Regions from separate parts of the Homo sapiens genome. Here all the other regions are linked to region 1. The links are contacts of gene promoters, found by promoter capture Hi-C in blood cells and fetal thymus (Javierre and others, 2016). All regions are on one chromosome and are shown on one strand. Each heading gives the region's core, a stretch centred on a gene start or on the middle of the fragment in contact. The rest is flanking DNA. Distances are from core to core; before and after follow the strand shown.

What was found. Contacts are between HindIII fragments. The CHiCAGO score rates a contact against its expected background, and 5 or more counts as called.
Region 2: a fragment that was not itself captured here is called in contact with the fragment with the promoter of POLR1A in region 1 in 1 of 17 cell types (fetal thymus); the score reaches 6.3 in fetal thymus.
Region 3: a fragment that was not itself captured here is called in contact with the fragment with the promoter of POLR1A in region 1 in 1 of 17 cell types (fetal thymus); the score reaches 7.5 in fetal thymus.
Region 4: a contact is called between the fragment with the promoter of RETSAT here and the fragment with the promoter of POLR1A in region 1, in 2 of 17 cell types (monocytes and neutrophils). The highest score is 9.2, in monocytes.
Region 5: a contact is called between a fragment that was not itself captured here and the fragment with the promoter of POLR1A in region 1, in 2 of 17 cell types (monocytes and neutrophils). The highest score is 6.6, in monocytes.
Region 6: a fragment that was not itself captured here is called in contact with the fragment with the promoter of POLR1A in region 1 in 2 of 17 cell types (monocytes and fetal thymus); the score reaches 5.6 in monocytes.
Region 7: a contact is called between the fragment with the promoter of SH2D6 here and the fragment with the promoter of POLR1A in region 1, in 4 of 17 cell types (fetal thymus, neutrophils, megakaryocytes and 1 more). The highest score is 6.0, in fetal thymus.

What each region holds. Positions count from the first base shown.
Region 1 is chr2:86,104,587-86,107,286 of GRCh38, forward strand. POLR1A (RNA polymerase I subunit A) reads right to left here and starts at 1,300. Exons shown (of 34, transcript NM_015425.6): 1 at 1,114-1,300. The coding sequence starts at 1,190. PTCD3 (pentatricopeptide repeat domain 3) reads left to right here and starts at 1,649. Exons shown (of 24, transcript NM_017952.6): 1 at 1,649-1,765. The coding sequence starts at 1,662. RefSeq lists enhancers at 820-909, 1,110-1,319, 1,700-1,959. The HindIII fragment of the contact is 4,349 bases long and covers 1-2,028 here.
Region 2 is chr2:85,322,050-85,325,004 of GRCh38, forward strand. It overlaps TGOLN2 (trans-golgi network protein 2), which reads right to left. Exons shown (of 4, transcript NM_006464.4): 3 at 2,866-2,949; 4 at 1-692. The coding sequence ends at 687. Among named protein-coding and RNA genes, the nearest start is that of TGOLN2, 4.5 kb to the right of the region's middle. The HindIII fragment of the contact is 5,598 bases long and covers 1-2,955 here.
Region 3 is chr2:85,535,978-85,538,931 of GRCh38, forward strand. It overlaps PARTICL (promoter of MAT2A antisense radiation-induced circulating long non-coding RNA), which reads right to left and starts at 2,909. Exons shown (of 1, transcript NR_038942.1): 1 at 1,490-2,909. RefSeq lists enhancers at 2,109-2,198, 2,599-2,808, 2,879-2,954. The HindIII fragment of the contact is 1,714 bases long and covers 484-2,197 here.
Region 4 is chr2:85,353,278-85,356,170 of GRCh38, forward strand. RETSAT (retinol saturase) reads right to left here and starts at 1,251. Exons shown (of 11, transcript NM_017750.4): 1 at 1,059-1,251. The coding sequence starts at 1,230. It overlaps ELMOD3 (ELMO domain containing 3), which reads left to right and starts at 1,492. Exons shown (of 14, transcript NM_001135022.2): 1 at 1,492-1,552; 2 at 1,799-1,893; 3 at 2,278-2,321. RefSeq lists enhancers at 1,253-1,754, 1,319-1,718, 1,755-2,254, 1,889-1,948. The HindIII fragment of the contact is 19,367 bases long and covers 1-2,893 here.
Region 5 is chr2:85,554,617-85,557,357 of GRCh38, forward strand. It overlaps GGCX (gamma-glutamyl carboxylase), which reads right to left. Exons shown (of 15, transcript NM_000821.7): 5 at 1,566-1,644; 6 at 868-974. Among named protein-coding and RNA genes, the nearest start is that of GGCX, 5.5 kb to the right of the region's middle. The HindIII fragment of the contact is 9,525 bases long and covers 1-2,741 here.
Region 6 is chr2:85,579,788-85,582,529 of GRCh38, forward strand. VAMP8 (vesicle associated membrane protein 8) reads left to right here. Exons shown (of 3, transcript NM_003761.5): 3 at 1,789-2,244. The coding sequence ends at 1,929. Among named protein-coding and RNA genes, the nearest start is that of VAMP5, 3.3 kb to the right of the region's middle. RefSeq lists enhancers at 1-520, 521-1,175, 1,176-1,829. The HindIII fragment of the contact is 4,412 bases long and covers 1-2,742 here.
Region 7 is chr2:85,417,196-85,420,250 of GRCh38, forward strand. SH2D6 (SH2 domain containing 6) reads left to right here and starts at 1,519. Exons shown (of 24, transcript NM_001394463.1): 1 at 1,519-1,735; 2 at 1,834-2,049. It also overlaps a transcript of CAPG not described here. RefSeq lists enhancers at 860-969, 966-1,501, 980-1,139. The HindIII fragment of the contact is 6,915 bases long and covers 1-3,055 here.

The DNA.
Region 1 (2,700 bases), core at 50-2,549:
ACAGGTGCCCGCCACCACGCCCAGCTAATTTTTGTATTTTTAGTAGAGACGGGGTTTCACCATGTTGGCCAGGGATGGTCTCGATCTCCCGACCTCGTGATCCGCCGGCCTCGGCCTCCCAAAGTGCTGGGATTACAGGCGTGAGCCACCGTGCCCGGCCATGTTGAGTTTCTGATATGCATTTAGGCCATGTTGAGTTTTTGATATGCATTTAAGATCTCTGTGTGAAATTCAATTAAAGATGTACAGACAGCTGAACAAATGGGTCTGAAAATCAGGGAAATAAATTTGCGTTGGGGATTTAAATTTGAGACTATAAATCATGAAAGTGGTGAGATTGTCTAGGGACAATATTTACCATGAAGAAAACATTACTAGAATAGAATCTTGAAGAACATCAACATTTAAGGAGTAAAATGAGGTACAGACCTTGCTCACCAATGTGTCATTAACGCCTAGCTTGGTGCCTGGAAAAAACTGGATGCTCAATAAATGTTTGTGAGGTTATAGATCGATAGAGGAAGAGAGGGAGGTAGAAGTATTTGTCATAAAAATAGGAGAACTTGAAGACAAATAAGGTTCTGGAAGAAAGGAAAGTTTCAAGAGAGTGCATTGGAGAATGTCAAATGCTACCTTGATCAAAATGAAGACTAAAGAGAGTTCCCTTGATTTAACAACCAGACCGAGAATATAGCAGGGTCCTAGCAAAGAGAAGTTAACGCCTGAACTGACACTTGAAGGACAATCATTTTACAAACAAGAGGAAACTTACTACGTGCCTAATTAACCATGTCAGGTACACTATGGTTAATTCCACAAATGCTTGTTAGTTAACGAGGAGACTGGCAGATGATAACGCTGCAGACCAGGACCCTCCCCACCCTTATATTCCCCTACCTCAGCGCAAACTCTTTCCCCCAGCACCACCGGCCTCTTATCCAGGCAGTCCACGCCGGCCCAGGAACGTTCCCAGAACTACGGCTCCCAGCAGGACAAGCGCCAGACAAGCCTGGACTCAAGAGGATAGACTGGGCAAAAGCGCTTCTGGGAATCGTAGTTTAGGGCGCCGACCTCAAGATCCAGGCTGGGCACGCTACCCGACCAACTCCTTACTTGAGCTCTTCAGCCGAATACATCCCGAAGGAAATGCCCTGCAGCCGCCGCCAGGGCATGTTCTTGGAGATCAACATCCTCCAGGTCCGTTTTGAATTCCGACACCCCAAGAGACGTTCCACTCACCACCTGACTATTCTTAATTCAACCTCAAGCCCGGAGTCACCACGCGATTCAACGTGCGCTTGCGCGCGGAAGCGGTCGCAGGAACGACATTTACGTGGATGAGATCACTTCTACATGGGGGGGGAACAAATAGTTGTACGACTCTCTGCTCGCTCTTTTGTTTTGAAAACAATCAAAGATATATAAGACATCAAAATAATCATTTAGGAAAATTCCTCCGAGGCAAATCGGGTGTATAGAGCTTTTAGCTTCCGTGACGAAGTCTTTCAAACCATGAGCTTGCAACCTCCCATTTTATGATTGCTTTCGTCTTCTTCCGCTTCAGCCAATAGCGGAGCTGTTCCCTGCTCCCCGCCCACTGCGCCCCACCTTCCTGAAGGTCGAGGCACGCTTTCCCAACATGCTCTGCAGAGAAATCAAAGATGGCGGTTGTATCTGCTGTTCGCTGGCTGGGCCTCCGCAGCAGGCTTGGCCAGCCGCTGACGGGTCGGCGGGCGGGTTTGTGTGAACAGGCACGCAGCTGCAGGTAAGAGACGCTTAGGGTATCCGCGAAGAAGACCGCGGAGTCACCTTAGTCCTATGTTTCCCAGCTGGCTGTGGAAGTAGGCACGATGAAATGGTTTGCTCATGCGCGCCCTTAACGGTCGCGTGCCCTTAAGACCAGGTACGCGGAGGTGGCCCTTTGAAATAGGATTCGCAACGCATTTATTCATTAGAGAAATACTTATTGGTTGCTTGCAATATTCTGTAGTTAACACCATCCGCAAAGCTAGGACCCTGCTCTCATGAAGCTTGCGTTCCAGTGAGTGTGGCTATTAGCAACACTACCCCAAATTAAAAATTATCCGCCATTACTCATTTTAACCCAATCAGGAGGAGCGAGGAGAACGTACAAGATCTTCCCAAATAAAAGGCAGTCTCTGGTCGCCACCGTGGGGACTTTGGCTAAAGAAGTTATCAGGTTTTCGTAAAAGCAGAAAAGTCTAAAAGATCTGACTATGCCCTTTTGATCTGTGATAGTTATAGCTTGGAACATGTATGACCTATCTGTGTAATTTTTTTTTCACTCAGTACAAACAGTGGCATTGTGGGAATATGAGAGGCAGTAATTTGTAGTGAAAACTTGCTAAAAGCCTAATTTTAGGTTTAGTGTTTGCCATTCACTTAATTGGATGATAATAGACAGATTTCCTCATCTGCAGACTAGAGTTGGTAATAACCATCCGAAAAGTTTGTGAGGTATAAGTGGGGTATGTAATTTACAATATGTTTTTATATGTACTCTCCCTTAGTTCCCCTCAAGAAAGAGAAACCACTCCATCTGATACTGCAGAAACCTTTGTGCTGCCATTCAATGCCAGTCCTCCGTTTCCTGGTAGCCATCGTTAGCATTTTTCTACTCATTTTCTTTGCCTGAAGCAGAATCTCTTCCTCAGCATCCGTTCTCAAAATAACTGTGAT
Region 2 (2,955 bases), core at 355-2,854, 780 kb before region 1:
AAATCAAGAAGATCTCATGCTAGACAGGTTAGACTTGCACCCAAAAAAGCATCTTTTTTTTTAACCTGCTGTTTTGGTTTGCTGCTGAAGTCTTTGAAGAGAATTATGTATTCAAAGTAGCTCTTTGCCCATTGGCATTTCCCCATCTTCTATGTCTTCTGTAGGGCACATCCCCCCCAAAGTAAGAGGCCTTAGTAGAAAAGCACTTCCACCTGCAGTTTTCCCCTAGGTCTGCAGAGAGAAACAGTGCAGAGTGCAATGCCACAGTCAAGGACCAACTTTCCTACAGAGCCCGGGCCCCAGGGAGGGTGGTCAGCAGCGCAGCCTGCCCAGGCTGGGATCTCCCTTTGGTCATAGCCGTGTTTCCATATACCCCTCCACTCACCCTCAGAGGAGGAACGGATGGAAGCCACCAGCATAAATAAAGGGAACACAGAAGAACAATGTCACCAAAGTGCAGGTGCAAAGCCCAAAGCAGCCCCCTACCTCTGCCAGCCCAGACCCGCCACTAAATTCTAGAGGAGGGTGTCTCTCAGGTCACAGTACTTTTTTCTTCATTTCTTTTGATTTAGAAACAAATCAGCAGGGAGGACAAGGTTCTCAAGGACAAAAAAATCAAAGCTGAAACGAGAGCAGCACAATCCATTGGTGACGTTCATCTTTTTCCAGAGGAATATACCATTCTGTTAGGACTTAGGGGAAAAAAGATCTTTTAGGAGGTGCAGGGAAAACATTCAGAATTAAGACATACTGACCCACCACCACAGAAACAGCAATTAATTAAAATAGCACACAAAATGATTTTTAAAGTTTGAAATGAAACCTAACACTAGAAAGATATACACTTGATGGAGAGAGAGGAATCCTGGCTTCTGCTTCATACTGTTCTGTACTGTTGTGAATTATTTACATGTGTTTTTTGTTGGTGGTGGTTTTCTTCTTTTTTGAGACGGAGTCTTGCTCTGTTGCCCAGGCTGGAGTGCAGTGGCATGATCTTGGCTCACTGCAACCTCTGCCTCCGAAGTTCAAGCGATTCTCCCACCTCGGCTTCCTCAGTAGTAGCTGGGATTACCATGCCCAGCTAATTTTTGTATTTTTAGTAGAGATGGTATTTCACCATGTTGGCCAGACTGATCTAGAACTCCTGACCTCAGGTGATCTGCCTCCCAAACTGTTGGGATTACAGGCGTGAACCACTATGCCCAGCCACATGTGTATTTTTTTAAAAATCATAAGCCATGTGTGGTGGCTCACGCCTGTAATCCCAGCACTCTGGGAGGCTGAGGTGGGTGGATCATTTGAGGTCAGCAGTTCAAGACCAGCCTGGCCAAAAGGGTGAAACCCCATCTCTACTAAAAATCTAAAAATTAGCTGGGCGTGGTGGTGGGCGCCTGTAATCCCACCTACTCGGGAGGCTGAAGAGGGAGAACTGCTTGAACCCGGGTGGTGGAGGTTGCAGTGAGCCAAGATTGTGCCACTGCACTCCAGCCTGGACGACACAGCAAGACTCCGTCTCAAAAACAAACAAACAAAAATCATAAAAGGGGGAAAACCCTTAAAGTCAATTATCTGAAAAGGCAGTAGTCCAGAGCTAAATTGTAAAGCTAGCCTACTGGACTAGTTAGCAAAGATATTCTGAGCTCAGTGGCTCGTTCTGTAGCTAATATTGAGTTGTGCAAGAGAATCGTGTTCCCTGCAGGAAGTCTGGGAACAATTCATAGTTGGGCCACCAATGGTTCTTTGCCAATGTCCTGGCTGTTGCTATGCTGAAAGCAGAAGGAAGGGTGCATGCTGGTAGCAACGCAGTGAGAGTACAGTCTTCCTGCTTAGACAGGTTGTCTTTAGAGAGACCCTTGCTTAGCTCTGCTGCCATGGGGTGGAAGGAGGGCTTATCTGTCTGACAGAGGAATGGATTGGCTGTACTCAGGAACTCCAGCCTACGGTGCTTAAGCCAGGCTGATGTGGGGAGTTGGAGGCCTATGTGCTTCCAGGCTCGTGTTTCCAGGGAGCACAGTCTAGCACTTTACCACACAAAGTGTGGATCCAGTGGCATTTGGTTTCACCTGGGAACTTCCTAAGAATGTAGACACAGGCCAGGCACGGTGGCTTATGCCTGTAATCTCAGCACTTTGGGAGGTCGAGGCGGGCGGATCACCTGAGGTTGGGAGTTCGAGACCAGCCTGACCAACATGGAGAAACCCATCTCTACTAAAAATACAAAATTAGCTGGACGTGGTGGTGGCGCCTGTAATCCTAGCTACTCGGGAGGCTGAGGCAGAAGAATCGCTTGAACCCAGGCAGCAGAGGTTGTAGTGAGCCGAGATTGCACCATTGTACTCCAGCCTGGGCAACAAGAGCAAAACTCCATCTCCAAAAAAAAAAAAAAGAATGTAGAAATATAGGCTCCACCCCACATCTAATGAATCAGATAATGCTTTTTATCAAAATTCCCCAAGGTGATTCAAATGCCTATTAAAGTTTATGGAGCGCTGGCAGAATGCAGAAAGCTCAGGACTGGGAGACTAGGGAGTTGCTATCAGGTCCTGAGTTTGCCACTAACTTGCAGTAGAAACTTAGCGGAAAAAAAAAAAAAAGAGTGTTTCTGCGTGGGCCTATTTCCTCATCTGTGAAGGGAGGTAGCTGCTGTAGAGTATTCCAAGGTCTCTGCTAGCTCTAACGTCACAGATATGTGTATCTAGATGTTTCTAGTTTGTTGTCTAAAAAGGGCGAATGCAACAGCAACAGCAACCGCATCCCCAGAATCAGCCACTGCTGCTTCATGGCAAATGCAAGCCCACTACTGGGTCCATCTGACGTTGCCTATCCCTCCTATCCCTCCCATGGACCTGGCTCCTCCTTCCTTACCTTCTGGTCCAAACGTTGGTAGTCACTGGCCTTTGGCCGCCGGGTGACTTTAGATCTTTTTCCTTCCAGGACAAAAGCAATGATCTGAGG
Region 3 (2,954 bases), core at 91-2,590, 570 kb before region 1:
GACTAAAACAAAGCAGGACCTCTTTCCATTGATTTCACATGATCGCCAGAGTCTCTCATTTCTCTGCTTCCTTCTGCCATCTTTTTTTTTGAGACGGAGTCTTGCTCCGTCGCCCAGGCTGGAGTGCAGTAGTGCGGTCTCAGCTCACTGCAAGCTCCACCTCCCGGGTTCACATCATTCTCCTGCCTCAGCCTCCCAAGCAGCTGGGATTACAGGCGCCCGCCACCACGCCCAGCTAATTTTTTGTATTTTTAGTAGAGATGGGATTTCACCGTGTTAGCCAGGATGGTCTGGATCTCCTGACCTCGTGATCCACCCCGCCTCGGCCTCCCAAAGTGCTGGGATTACAGGCGTGAGCCACCGTGCCCCGCCCCCTTCTGCCATCTTTATATTCGTTCATTTTCCGTTTCCTTCCCTTCCTTTCTTGTCTCTCCCTCTTGAACATTTCTAAGCACCTTGTGTGTGCCAGGCATTCAGTAACAAAGCTTGAGCAAAACAGCCCACCTTCTCATTATCATGGAGCTTACAAGCCTAACTGGGAATTGGAGACATTCATCAAATAATCACCAAATCTATAATTTGAAACTGCACTTAGTGCCATGAAATAAAACACAGGCCCCTGTGACAAATCTGTGTAGATGAAGGCTTCATCCAGGAAGTGGTAGCTGAGCTGGAGTGAGAAGGATAAGGAGTTAGCCAGGCATCTCCCCACATTTAGAGCGCCGAGTGGGCAGAGACCAGGATTGTTATAGCATTTGCTCCTGGGTCTGACTCACAGATGTGCTCATAAATATTTGTGGAAGGGAGGAAGGGACAATACGAATAATATAAAATAAATGAAAATGTGTCCTCCTTTGTTTTGATACTATGAAATTAATAAAATTAACTGCTACTAACTAAAAAATCCAAGTAGAACACAGAAAGGAGAGTGTGGCACAAGGTAAGGTTGCAGAAGTAGCAGCCAAATCACACTGGGGCCTTGAGTATGTAGAGATTTTAGTCCGTATCCCGACAGCAATTGAAAGCCACTGAAAAGTAATTCACAGCAAATATAGTTAATTTTTTTACAGCTTACATTAAAACAAATTATGTACTAGATACTGTGCTAAAGACTCTACTTGCACTATTTGAATCCTTGAAACAATCCTATGATGTACTATTAATATTCCAATTTTACAGAACGAGGATACTGATGCATAGAGAGGTCGTGACTCCAAACCCCTACTCTTACTGTATTACACCTACACACTATTCACAAGTGAGAGAAGTAGGTAAGCAACTATGTACAGCTAAATCTCATCTCCTTGGCAGGCCTAGCCCCACTGTGGAGTTGGTAGCACAGGGGTATCAGGATTTAATGAGCCAATCATTGACTTTACGCTCCTTGTTCTGACTCCCTAATAAAATAACCTTCTAGTTATATTCTGGCTTCCCATATAGATTTTTCTGCTGGGAGATAATGCACTGACCAGCCTACACACGCATTTTGTTCCAGTTGACAATTTTATTACACATTGTAAGTTAATAAATTGGCATTCTCCTTTAAAAAATAACAAAAAAATTTAATAGTCTTATACAGTTACTTTCCCATGAAGGGTTAGCTTGAAAAGTAAAAAGCAACGAATAAAAATATCATCACCTATTGTCTCTTTTGTGGTCGAACCTTTTCTTGCTGCCTGCTTTGAGCGACCGTGGATGTGGTCACTGAGTCTGGGGAGGAGCCCTTTATCTTCTTTGTGGATGCCCCCAGCACAGCCCAAGTGCTTCCTTTGTTTCCCACTGAGCCTTTAGCAAATCCCACCTTTCCTCCTGCACCGACGGAGAGGATTGTTCTTGGGAATGCACCTTGTTCTACTGCCGCCAGCAGTAGGCAGCTGGAGACTGTTACTAGGGGTCTCCTTCACCTCCCCAGCGTAAAGTACATCCCATGCTAGGAGCAGGCCGTTCCCTGAGAACCTCATTAAACCCGGCGTTCTTGTCACGCGCTCCGCTCAGGGCCACCAGGCCACCAGCCCGACCAGACCTGCACCGAGGCCCAGCCCCAGAACAGGCTGCAGAGACCCCCGCCCCCAAGGCGGGCTCCCTCCAAACGGGACTCCATACTCCTTGCTGGCTCAAGTTTTGTTTCGCTCTTTTTCCCTGTAATTCCTTTATTGGGCAAAACTGGGACAAACGCAGGTGGACATTTTAAAGTGAAAGCTTCATGAAACAGCCCATTCCACGCCGTCAAGAGATCTGCTTAAGCACATTCAAGGGAACGAATAGCCCCCACCCACCAAAAAAGAAATGTTCGTTCCATATTCTCCTGAACAGAGGATTGAAACATCGATTCCCCCCCCCTTCAAAGGAACAGGAAGGCCACGGGGCAAGGACGGACTTGGGAGCGGCCTCCTTTCTCTCTGGAGGGAAAGGCTGGAGCGCTGCCTCCACTTTTAAGTCCACGAACCACGAAGGGTGAGGATCCCTCAGAAACTTTAGCGCAGGGGAGCGGGCAGGAGGGCGATTGTTTAAATCGATGGCAGCACCTTCATTAATCTGCTTTCCGGCCATCTTCAGCAGAGCCATTCACCAGGAAACGACTAGAAGGTGGGCCTGCGCCCCTCAGATATCCCGGGGCCGGCAACGAGCCGGGCAGGGACGCCGAAGGAAGGCCGTGAGGAGCCCTCGCTGGCCGGCCAAGATGGCCACCTTCACATGGCCGACCGCCACCGGCTCCCTGCCACCCGGCATCTAGAGGCGGGACGGCCAGAAAGACCCCAGCCGCAGCACAAAACCTCCGCGATTCCCGCCGCCTCCGCTGGGGGACGCGACCTCCGGGAAAGCTATCCCGGCCAACGGTCGGAAGGGAGGTGCCATGTCACCGCACAGGGGAGCGGGTCCAGCAAGCCCCAGTCGCTTTTTCTCCCACATCAAACAAGGAAGAGCAATCCCCCACGTCTCCTCGCGTCTGCATT
Region 4 (2,893 bases), core at 1-2,500, 750 kb before region 1:
CCCTGTCTCTACTAAAAATACAAAAATTAGCTGGGCATGCCCACTACTCGGGAGGCTGAGGCAGGATAATCACTTGAACCCAGGAGGCGGAAGTTGCGGTGAGCGGAGATCGCGCCACTGCACTCTAGCATGGACAATAGAGCGAGACTCTGTTTCAATAAATAAATAAATAATGCCAGTTGCAACTCACTAAATTGATTTCATAGCCCACTAATAGATCACAATCCGGTTTGAAAAGCAGTTAAGCTAGTCATCTCATTTTTAGACCAGCCCAGGTAGGTGCTAATGGTTATGCAGCAAATTAGTGACAGAGTCCAAGCTAAAACTCAGTTCTCAGAAGTCCAGATGATTAGTCCTTCCACTTAGAACAGTACTGTCTCCGATTGTGTAGCAAGATATGACACGGAGAATTCTAAAATTTACAAGTGAGAGGGACTCCGTAGATCAAACAGGTGATCCATTATTTTTTAAAGCAGCAGAACTCTTTAAACTCTAGAAGCAACCACAAAATATGTTTTAAAGATGAGAGTGGAGAGCAGGCTCTGAGCCTGAGGCGCCTTGTTGAACCTCTGCCAATGTTTCAGAACTAGGGTTCAATCCTTACGATTTGGGACCATGCAAAGCCTGTTAAATCACCGGACGGGCAAAACGCAATTTCCTACGCATTTCTGTGCTGCTCCCCCACACCCCTGAGCTCGCATGGGAGGGTAGGTGAAAAAGTTAAGGTCCTGGAACCAAGTGGAGGAATGAGTCACGGGGATTATCAGTTCCACGAGCCACGGGGATTACAAGTGGCAGGGCGGGTGCCAACACCTTGCAAACCAAGGACAATGACCACACCCTTGGGACTACTATTCCCGGGGCCTACTAGGGCAAAGGCTATCGACAGTGTTGCACACTAAAGCGGGGCTCCTCCACGTGCAAGGAAGCCCTCCTAGTACTTTACATATGGGGAAACTAAGGCCCACGTCTGGTAGCGGCTGCCTTGGCAAAATGAGAACCCAAATCTGTGAGAAAGCCTCGAGTGCAGCCCCGGACCCCAGGGTCCCTCCTGCTACCTTGTTTGAGAACCTTCTTCCTGGCCTCCTTGTCAGTTACCAGGGGCGCTGGGGGCCGTTTGACATCTTCGGAGAAAGGATTCGGGGAGCTGCCAGAGAATAGTCCCAAGTAAACTTTGCAGAGGACGGCCAGCAGCAGCACAGCCAGGAGCAGCACCAGCGGAAGCCACATCACGCCGGCGTCGGGTCGGGTAAATGGGACAGCTCCGACTGCGCTCAGCCTCTAGGACTGTGGCTCCGCCCGGGCTAGTTCGCTCTCCAGTCAGGAGGCGGAGGCAGCTTTGAGCACTGATTAACCAGCCAGCCAGCGAAGAGCCAACTCTCAGGTGATGATTGACCCTCCCGGCTCTCCGTACTTCTTTTGGGTTTCCATTGCCTACTGGGAAATGTAGTTCTCGGGGCCAGGGGAGCCGGCACGGAAGCGGCTGTGCGCATGAGCAGATGAGGCCTAGCCGAGGCGGCGGGACCCCCAAGTTTGGAAAGCTCTTTTAACGGTGAGAACGCGTTAACACTTGCCAAGGGGAGTGGTTGGTGCCTGTGCGGAGCTAGCAGCCGGCCTGAGGAGGGAGGGAGAATGTGATCCGGTGGAAATTATCACTATGGGGCGAGACAAGGCCGAGAGTTGTAAGACTGAAAGAGAATCCCGACTGGGAGACAGGAGTCCTGAGTTCTGGTCCTGGCTCTGCCCTGGACTCGCTGCCTTGAGGTGTTAAATTGCTTTCCTCGTCTTACGCCTCCAGGCTATGCGAAAGTTCTGTCCAAAGGCTGCTCACAGCCCCTGTCTGACTGGTTGTCATGATGAATTGAGCTCTCTGTTACCTGCGCATCACAACCGGTGAGCGTCTGTCTCTGTGCCCCTCAAAGTGGCCCATAGTTTTGTCCTGGGGGCCCGCCTGGGACGGAGTCCTCTATGGCGGGTCCCTAATGACACCCCATCCGTGGGGAACCTGGGGGACGGGGAGCCGCCCATGGACAAGCATGGTGAAAGGATCAGCTAAGGGCCCATCTAATTTAAATTCCTATGCAGAGAATCTAACCTCCAGCAAGCAGTTGAAGAATCATACCCCCTCCTTGCCTAAAGAGGGTGCATAATGAATACTTGATTGGAGAAGGATCCATTTTTACAGGAAGGCCGTTTCCTTAGGTCCAACTATCAGGAATTTGCCTTTGAGTACTTCCTTGTTTAATGGAATTGTTGCTCTTTTCTTCTCTGCTACAGATAGTAACTGTCCCTACTGAAGGCCCCAGGAGTGCTCCAGCCAGGTGTGGAAAGCTGGTCACGATTCTATGCTACTTGGTTCATTTTCTACACAGCAACAGAAGAGCCCTCCTGAGATTGCTATTACCATACCCGCCTGTCACCTTGCCAAGGCTGGCCAATGTGTGTTTTGTCATAGGCTGTCATGGAGGCCATGATGGAGGAAAAGGAAAGGGGAGGCAGATGTTGAGGCCCCAGAGGCCACAGTGAGAGCAGTTTAGTTCCTGGGGTGCCAGGACTAAGGGGGCATTGCCCTGTCCCCCGGATTACAGTGAGCCACATGTCAAGCCCAAGAGCCAGGAGGTATTCTTCCTCTCAGTGTTAATAATCAAAGCATCCTGACACCAGCAGCCAGTTTTTATGGCATCCTGGAGGGCTGACCTCATAGAGAGGCTACCCTCCTTCCTTAGTCACCCAAAGTTGTGAACTATGATTGTCAGTTGTGTGTGGGCCATCTGCCCACTTAGGATGCAATTTTTGATGTGACAGACATTCCGGATGTCCAATTCCCCTGTGATGAGGTATGAGCCTTGTCCAGCCCTTTTCCTGAGGGAAGCAATGTCAGATGAAAGACTTA
Region 5 (2,741 bases), core at 210-2,709, 550 kb before region 1:
CACCACGCCTAGCTGTTTTTTTAAAAAATTTTTTTGTAGAGACAGTGTCTTATATTGCTCAGGCTGGTCTTGAACTCCTGGGCTCAAGCAATCCTCCCACCCCAGCATCCCAAAGTGCCGGGATTACAGGCATGAGCCACCATGCCCAGCCCCCTCTACATTTTCACACACTTTAGGTGTTCAATGTTTTCTAACATATCCTATGTAATAAGCAAGGGCAGATCTCCTAGGACAAAATTTGACTGAGATGTGTGTGTGTTGTGGAAGGGACGTTCCCCACGGAGGTCATGAGTGAGAGGACACTTTAAAAGGTGAATGCTTGGCTAACATCATAATGAAGTCAAACTTCAGGAACTGGAAAATAACAGGGAAGAAGAAAGAGAATAAAGTAAAACAAGAGGAAAGAAGAAATGGGAAGAAGACAAATCAGAAAGGTGACCCTTTGTTTTGTGGAAGTGATAATAATGGTTTTGTCAGAGCCTGAACAGTGAGTGCCCATCTTCTCAGTACATCAGCTGCAGGGCTCTGATGGGAGGCTAGAGTGGCAAGGCAAGGACACAGGCACCATCCAAGGCAGCTGCTGAGGGCACTGGCTCACTCACCAAGTCAGCCAGTTCCGGCTCTTTCCTTTCCTTTTTAAATTTCTTTTCCTTTCTTGCCTATCTATACCATATATCTCCCAAGAGCAGCTAGGGCTCAATCTTTTGATACCACTGACTCTGCTTCTGCTGAATAGGGAAATGAGTGGACAAAGGAAGGCATGTGGCAAATTCAGGCAAAGTAGGAACAGGTGCCATTACTGAGAGAGATGAGTCACCTGCTCTGTACCCATGCCTCAAAGAGGCCTCCACCATGACTGCCACTCACTTGAAGGGACTGAAGAGCCAGTGCCGGGACAAATATTCCATGGAATAGCCTTCAACCCAGTCTGCATCCAGCTTTTTCACACCCGCAATGAAGTACACAATGAAGATCTGAAAATAAAATGTGACACAAAGTTCAAGCAAAAAGAATCTTTTCTACAGATAGGCAAGAATAAAATAAGGAGCATATAGTTAGGACAACTTGAATCCATGCTCCTGAGTTACAGTCCTTGACCCAAATATTACAGTCCTTGACCCAAATAATCTACTTATATATATTTTTTAAATGAATAAAATAAATACTGATCTGAGTCCAGGGCCCAAGGAAGAATAGACCCCATCTTCTATTCATTCATCTCAGAAATTCGCCTCATCCAAACAGCATTTATTGACATCCAACCAATGTCAGCGACAGTATCAGGCACCAAGGAAGAAGTCATAAAGCACAGACTGAATCCTTTCTCTTTGTCATGAGGATTCCAATCTAGCAGGGACAAAGCTCTAGTCTTTCCTTGACAAATAAGATAATTCAGAGATTAAGGGATTGGAAAAAATGAGAAGCCAGCCTAGCTTTCCAGCAAAGGGTAAAAACTAAAAACAGAAGATCCAGGGAGGCAGCGGAGAGTGTAGTCTGGCAGTGGGATGGCCATGCTGACCACATGGCTGTCAAGGAGCTCCTCCCTCTGTCCTAAAATGCTGTACCTGGCCACGGAGCACTGCATAGTTCCAAAGGGGCACGTGGGCATTCCTCCTATGGGCATTCAGCAGACCGTCCACAGACCTACACCGAGGGAGGTAAACATTGAGGGGGGAGCTGCTTAATGCAGCTACATCTCCATCCTTCCTTTTATACACGATAATCCTATCTATCCTGGGCACATCTCCCATATCCTCCCTGGTTATTCTGAGACCTTTTAGAATTATATGAGCAAATTCTAACATGATTATACAAGTCATAGAAGAAATATTGCTACTAAGTTATAACAGCAAAAAGTTCAGTATTTCTTGTTAGCTCCCAGTTGAGTTTGTTCTAATGGATCAAATCAGGAAAAAAGGACTACAATACTAGAAAATTACTGAAAAAGGGGAGGAATTTGATGGAGTGTTTGAAAAGCTATGTATGTGTAAATAAATATGCGGTGTATTATCTTTAAAAAAAAATGAAAACCCTCAACAGCAGAGTAACACACAACATAAACTAACATTTCATAGACCTGGGTGCCAGGATCCAGTATAAGAGGGTTCCTGCTAACAGCTTGTATTCTGGAAGAGAACTGATTAGACCCAGGCTACTAACACCAGATGTACTCTGGGGAAGCAGAAGCAAAGCAAGTTTTCAAGAAGTAGAAGCTGGGAAAGGGGCAGCTTACACTGTGGTCAAGAGCACTGGACTCTGCAGTCATGAACACCTGGACTCACTTCTGTTTCTTAACTGCTAGCTGACCTTAGGCAAATTCTTCACTCGTCAATAATACTTAGCTTCTTTATCTTTAAAATGTGAACAGGCCAGGCTCAGTAGTTCATACCTATAATACCAACATTTTGGGAAGCTAAAGCGAGAGAATCTCTGGAGCCCAGGAGTTTGAGGTTGCAGTGAGCTATGACTGCACCACTGCATTCTGGCCTCAGTGACAGAGCAAGACCCTGACTCCAAAAAACATAAAATGTGAACAGCACCATCGACCTTACAGGGTTTTAATGAGGAAAAACTCTAAATATTTAGTATAGTGCCTGCGATGTGGAAAACCCTGAATAAATGATAAGTGATTTTTTCAAAATGCATAAAGTCATAAAAATGGAACTTCTGACTAGCCTGAGCAACATAGTGAGATCCCATCTCTACAAAAAATTTTAAAAATTAGCTGAGTGTGGTGGCAC
Region 6 (2,742 bases), core at 79-2,578, 520 kb before region 1:
TGAGCAAAGTCTGGAGCCTCAAGTTCTGTGTTCAGCGGGGAGGCTGGCTCTGGCTTTCTGAGTCCTGTGTGAACTCTTGGCTCTTGGGTATTGCTCCCTTGTCTCCCTGGGGCTCATTGCCTGTTTCTGTAGCTTAATTGTAGCTTAATTTGGGGAGCATGGCCCCGGGAATTTTTTTTTTTTTTTTAGACAGAGCCTCACTCTGTTGCCCAGGTTAGAGTGAGTGCAATCTTGGCTCACTGCAAACTTCACCTCCTGGGTTCAAACGATTCTCGTGCCTCAGCCTCCTGAGTAGCTGGGATTACAGTGTGCACCCCCACACCTGGCTAATTTTTTGTATTTTTAGTAGAGACGAAGTTTTGCCTTGTTGGCCAGGGTGGTCTTGACCTCCTGACCTCAGGTGATCCACCTGCCTTGGCCTCTCAAAGTGCTGGGATTACAGACTTGAGCCACCATGTCTGGACAAGCCCCAGGAAATTTAGTGTCTATAACTTGAATTGCTGGGCATGGGGAAGAGTGGGTGGAGGAGGAGGAGTTCCCTTACTTCCAACCCTCTATCCTGTCCTGGTCCCTCCTCCAGCCTCAGCAGTCCCGATGGGGCAAGGAGTCCTGGAGCTGCGAGATGTGCCCACCTGGAGCCTGCACCCCTCAGTCCCAGGGTCTGCCCTCCCAAGGGCAGATTTTGCTGCCAGTGTTGTACCCTTGGGTGTAAGCAGGTGTCGAGGACCCCTCAGTGTGCAGGGGTAAGAAGAGAAAGGGGACCCCTAGTCATATCTAGGTGGAGACCTCCTAGGATCCTGAGAATTCTAAATTTCAACCCGGCCTTCCAGATTTTTAGGAAGGTACATTTGTCAAGGTAGGCAGATACAGCATTTTTTTTTTTTTTTTTTTTTTTTTGAGATGGAGTCTTGCTTTGTTACCCAGGCTGGAGTGCAATGGCGCAATCTCGGCTCACTGCAACCTCCGCCTCCCAGGTTCAAGTGATTCTCCTGCCTTAGCCTCCTAAGTAGCTGGGATTACAGGCGTCTGCCACCACACCCGGCTAATTTTCTTGTATTTTTAGTAGAGAGGGGGTTTCACAATGTTGGCTAGGCTGGTCGCGAACTACTGACCTCAGGTGATCCACCAACCTCGGCCTCCCAAAGTGCTGGGATTACAGGCGTGAACCACCGCACCCGGCCAGAGCATCTTTTATTTAGCAGTTTGTTACCTCAGCTTACAGTGTCAGTATTAAGATGTATGGCTTGAGCTGAACGTGGTGGCATGTGCCTGTAGTCCCAGCACTAGGGAGGCTGAGGTGGGAGGATTGCTTGAGCCCTGGAGATGGAAGCTGCAGTGAGCTGAGATTGTGCCACTGCACTCCAGCCTGGGTGACACAGCCAGACACTGTCTCAAAAAACAAACAAACAAGGCCAGGCGTGGTGGCTTACGCCTGTAATCCCAGCACTTTGGGAGGCCAAGGCGAGTGGATCACCTGAGGTCAGGAGTTCAAGACCAGCCTGGCCAACATGGTGAAACCTCCTCTCTACTAAAAATACAAAAGTTAGCTGGGCGTGGTGGTGGGCACCTGTAATCCCAGCTACTCAGTAGGCTGAGGCAGGAGAATCAATTGAACCCAGGAGGTGGAGGCAGCAGTGAGCCAAGATCGAGCCACTGCCTGAGTGACAGAGCGAGACTCCATCTCAAAAAAAAAAAAAAAGTATGGCCTGTGGGCTGCACTTGTACTCTTATAATCTTGTTCCAGTGGGAGGAGCCACTGGGTCACTCACTCTGCCTTTTCCCCAACAGTCTGAGCACTTCAAGACGACATCGCAGAAGGTGGCTCGAAAATTCTGGTGGAAGAACGTGAAGATGATTGTCCTTATCTGCGTGATTGTTTTTATCATCATCCTCTTCATTGTGCTCTTTGCCACTGGTGCCTTCTCTTAAGTAACAGGGAACCTCTCCCACCTGCCCTTCTCTTCAGGGACAACCCTCCATAAATGTGTGCCAAGAGGGTCTCCTTTCCTGTCTTCCTCTACAGAGAATGCTGCTCGGTCCTCCTACCCCTCTTCCCGAGGCCCTGCTGCCATGTTGTATGCCCCAGAAGGTACCTTGGTCCCCCGGAAGGAGAGAAAAAAGAGAGATGGACTGTGGCTGCATTTCTTGGGTCCTTAGAGTGGGCTGGAGAGACCTAGAGGGCCCAGCATGTGGCTGGGAAACTGTTGGTGGCCAGTGGGTAATAAAGACCTTTCAGTATCCCTATATGTGTGAGGCACTTTCTCTCTTCCCATTTTGCCTTTGGCTTTTCTATTTCTTTTCTTCCTGAGGATACCTTCTGGCTAAAATTCTCTCATCTGAGGTCCAAGTTGTTGGAAGGGCAAAGAGTATATGTTTGGAGAAGAAAGTTGGAGCCCCCACCCTGTCTTTATTCCTCCCAGTTCCATTCATTGTCACAGGTCTCAAGAACAAGAATTTTCTGGGAGTCTTGGCATATGGAAAGTTCAAAACCTTCATAGCATTTTGGGGTGGTATGCAAGATTTTTAAGTGTTCCCATTGGGTCCTGCCATGGCCCTGTAGTACTCTTCTTCTGGAATTGTTAGCTGAGGCATGAAGCTGGTTGAAATCCTCCTGCCTCTTCCACCAGAGCCATCTCTCTTCAACGACCCTGTAGTCTAGAGCCGAGGGGTGGAGGAAATGGACTGCTATTCCTTTCCTTGTGCTTCTGCATGTTTTATTTGTCTTTTCTCTGTCCTTGTCTT
Region 7 (3,055 bases), core at 269-2,768, 690 kb before region 1:
GTGTGCTGCCACTATATGCCAGGTGCTATCCTTGATATGATTTTCTCATTTAATCCTTGCATTTACTCTCTAACATGGATCCTCTTATTATCCTCCTTTGACAGATGAGGAAACAGAGATAAAGAGAGATAAAGTAGGTCAAAATCACTTGTTCTAGGTCCCACTTAGTAAGCGGCAGAGGATAGATGGGAGCCATGTAGTGGGAGTCCATGCCCTCCCCACTATCACCGCATGCTAGTGCCAGTTGTGAGTCCTTTCACATGCAAACAGCTATCTCAGCTCTTTTTTTTTTTTTTTTTTTTTTTGAGACAGAGTCTGGCTCTGTTGCCCAGGCTGGAGTGCAGTGGCACCATCTCGGCTCACTGCAAACTCCGCCTCCTGAGTTCAAGCAATTCTCCTGCCTCAGCCTCCCGAGTAGCTGGGATTACAGGCACGTGCCACCACGCCCGGGTAATTTTTTCTATTTTTAGTAGAGATGGGGTTTCGACATGTTGGCCAGGCTGGTCTTGAACCCCTGACCTCAGGTGATCTGCTTGCCTCAGCCTCCCAAAATGCTAGGATTACAGGCGTGAGCCACTGCGCCCGGCCATACCCTCCCTTTTGAGGTGAGGCTCTTGAAGGCCCAGACCTTTCCTCCAGTGCTTTGAGGTCTGATCCTGATGATAATAACACCTCACTCATAACCTGGACTTCACAGTTTACAAAACACCCCTCCTCCTCACCCCCTCCCAAACTCGGTTTATTTTTGTCGTTAAAGCAGAGTTGTAGGCCAGGGTGGACCATAGGTTTTCTTGGTCACGAGAGACTTCCTCCCTCCCTGGGCTCCCCTCTGTAGTGGTGCCAAATAAAAATCTGATCAGTCAAGCCTGTAAGGTAACTAGCGCTAATGTGCAGAGCCAGTCCTGGGCAGGCCTGTTCATTATTTTGCACACTCTTACACCGAAAGGGCCCAGGACCCTCGCCTGACCCAGCCTTGCCTGCCAGGCCTGGGCTGGGTCTCCCAGCCCAAATTCTCACAAGAGGGCCGACTCCGGCCAGAGCGCGCCCCTCTTTGTGCCTCGGTTTGCCCACCTAGAGGTCAGTCCCGCAGGCGTGGCGGGTACATCTCAGGGTCGGCAGAAAGTGCCACCGGGAGCCCAGCCGGAGTTGAGGGCCTCGCGCCGGGCCCACTGTCCAGATCCAGGGCTCACGAGAAAAACGAGGACGCAGGAGAGCCACACGCCAGGACGCGTGTAAGGCCCCAACCCGGCCCCAGCCTGGGCCCTAGACCCCTAAGAACTACAAATCCCAGCAGGCAGTGGGCCGCGGGGCGGGGTCTCGGAAGCTGCGGCCTGTGGTGCCTTTGCTGAGCCCAGGTCCGGAGGGCCCTCGGGGACGGGAGCACCACAACAGACCCCCGGACACACTTACACACACAGTCTCACAAACACACAGTCACACACGCACACACACACACGCGCGCGCGCGCGCCTTTTGGCCCCTCCCCTACAAACTACAAATCCCGGCAGGCAGCGGGCCGTTGGGCGGGGCCTTGGGTGCTGATCCGGACGCAAAGATTGCGCCAGCCAGGGTGGGATCCCGGTAGCTAGGTGGGGGCTACCCTGCTGGGGAAGAGATGGCCTTCTCTCCTCGCAAACCCAGCTCCCCACCCCTGCACGCGCCCCTCTGCCCTGGAGTCGCTGGTCCGAGCCCTCCTTCTCTGCGAACCTGAGCCCCGCCCTGCCCTCCCTACGAGGTTGGGGCCGTGGGAGATGAAGATGGTGGGTGGGGGGTTGGGCCCACAGCCTGCTAAGCAGGCAGAGTGGCCTCCTGAACCCTTCCTCCATCGCCTAGAGCAAACTCCCATTCCTGGAAGGAGGAGCAGCCCAGACCCTGAGACTGGACTAGGTCTGTTAGGGTCCCTGTGTGGCCGGCAGGACTCGTGGTGAAGCCCGGGGAAGGCCTGGGTCCTCCAGGTCAGGGATGTAGGTCCCAGGGTGTGCAGGCCGCGGTATCTGACCATCGTCGGCGCCCTGCGCCCAGGCATCAATTTTACATGGCAGAGTCAAGGTGAGGTTAGGAGGCTGCCAGGAGGTAATAACCAGGGCGCTCGCATTCAGCATCCTCTCTCTCAAAGCACTCTCCTCACACCTCAGGGTCAAATGTCAGAGCTCTTGTCCTAACTTCCCAGGTTGCCCAAGGAGCTTCTGAGGCGCTACAGAAGGGACTTACCCAGACCCTTCAGTGCAAGCCAGGAACTCAGGGTCCGGCCTGCTCGGTAGGATGAGCTGTGCTGAGGCCCTACTTCATCCACCCTTCTGGGCCAGGGCAGCCTCTTTCCAGAGGCCTCTTCTCAGCTGATTTCTGGCTCCCAAGCGGGAGACTCAGGTTACACCTGTATCGGGAGCAGTGACACCACAGTGGCCAGCAACACATTGGACTTTCTGTCTCCAACTCCATTTTCAGCTTTTACACTTCCTGATCTGGGCATATACTGCTACATACTGGATCATCAAGGAAGGAGGAAAATACCTAGTCAATGAAGGTTTAGCCATGACCTTGTAAGTCAGTGAGATTTCATTCTTGTGTGGTTAGTTCGAGGCGAGCTACTTCCTAGAAATATTTCATTTGATCTCTAAACACCTAGAAACAGCTCCAAAAGGGATATTCAAAGTAGATTGCCCAGATTCTCTTGATAGCAGATGTGGGGTTCATATTAACTGGTCGCGTGGTCTCTAAGCATGCCTATTTCTGCCTGGGAAGTTCTCAAAGGTTTGGTTTTCTGAGTGTTTCTGTTAAAACAATCAGCCTTTTGTTGAGTAGCCCTTTTGCCCCTAGAGAGGAGAGATAGGTACCATAGAAACTTGGAGACAGCTATTGACTCAGTCCCTGGACTCTTTAATAAGAGCCCGTTCTGTTTTGTTTGTTTGTTTGTTTGTTTGTTTCCTGAGACAGAGTCTCGCTCTGTCTCCCAGGCTGGAGTGCAGTGGCGCAATCTCGGTCCACTGCAACCTCTGCCTCCCGGGCTTAAGCGGTTCTCCTGCCTCAGCCTGCCTCAGCCTCAGTAGCTGGGATT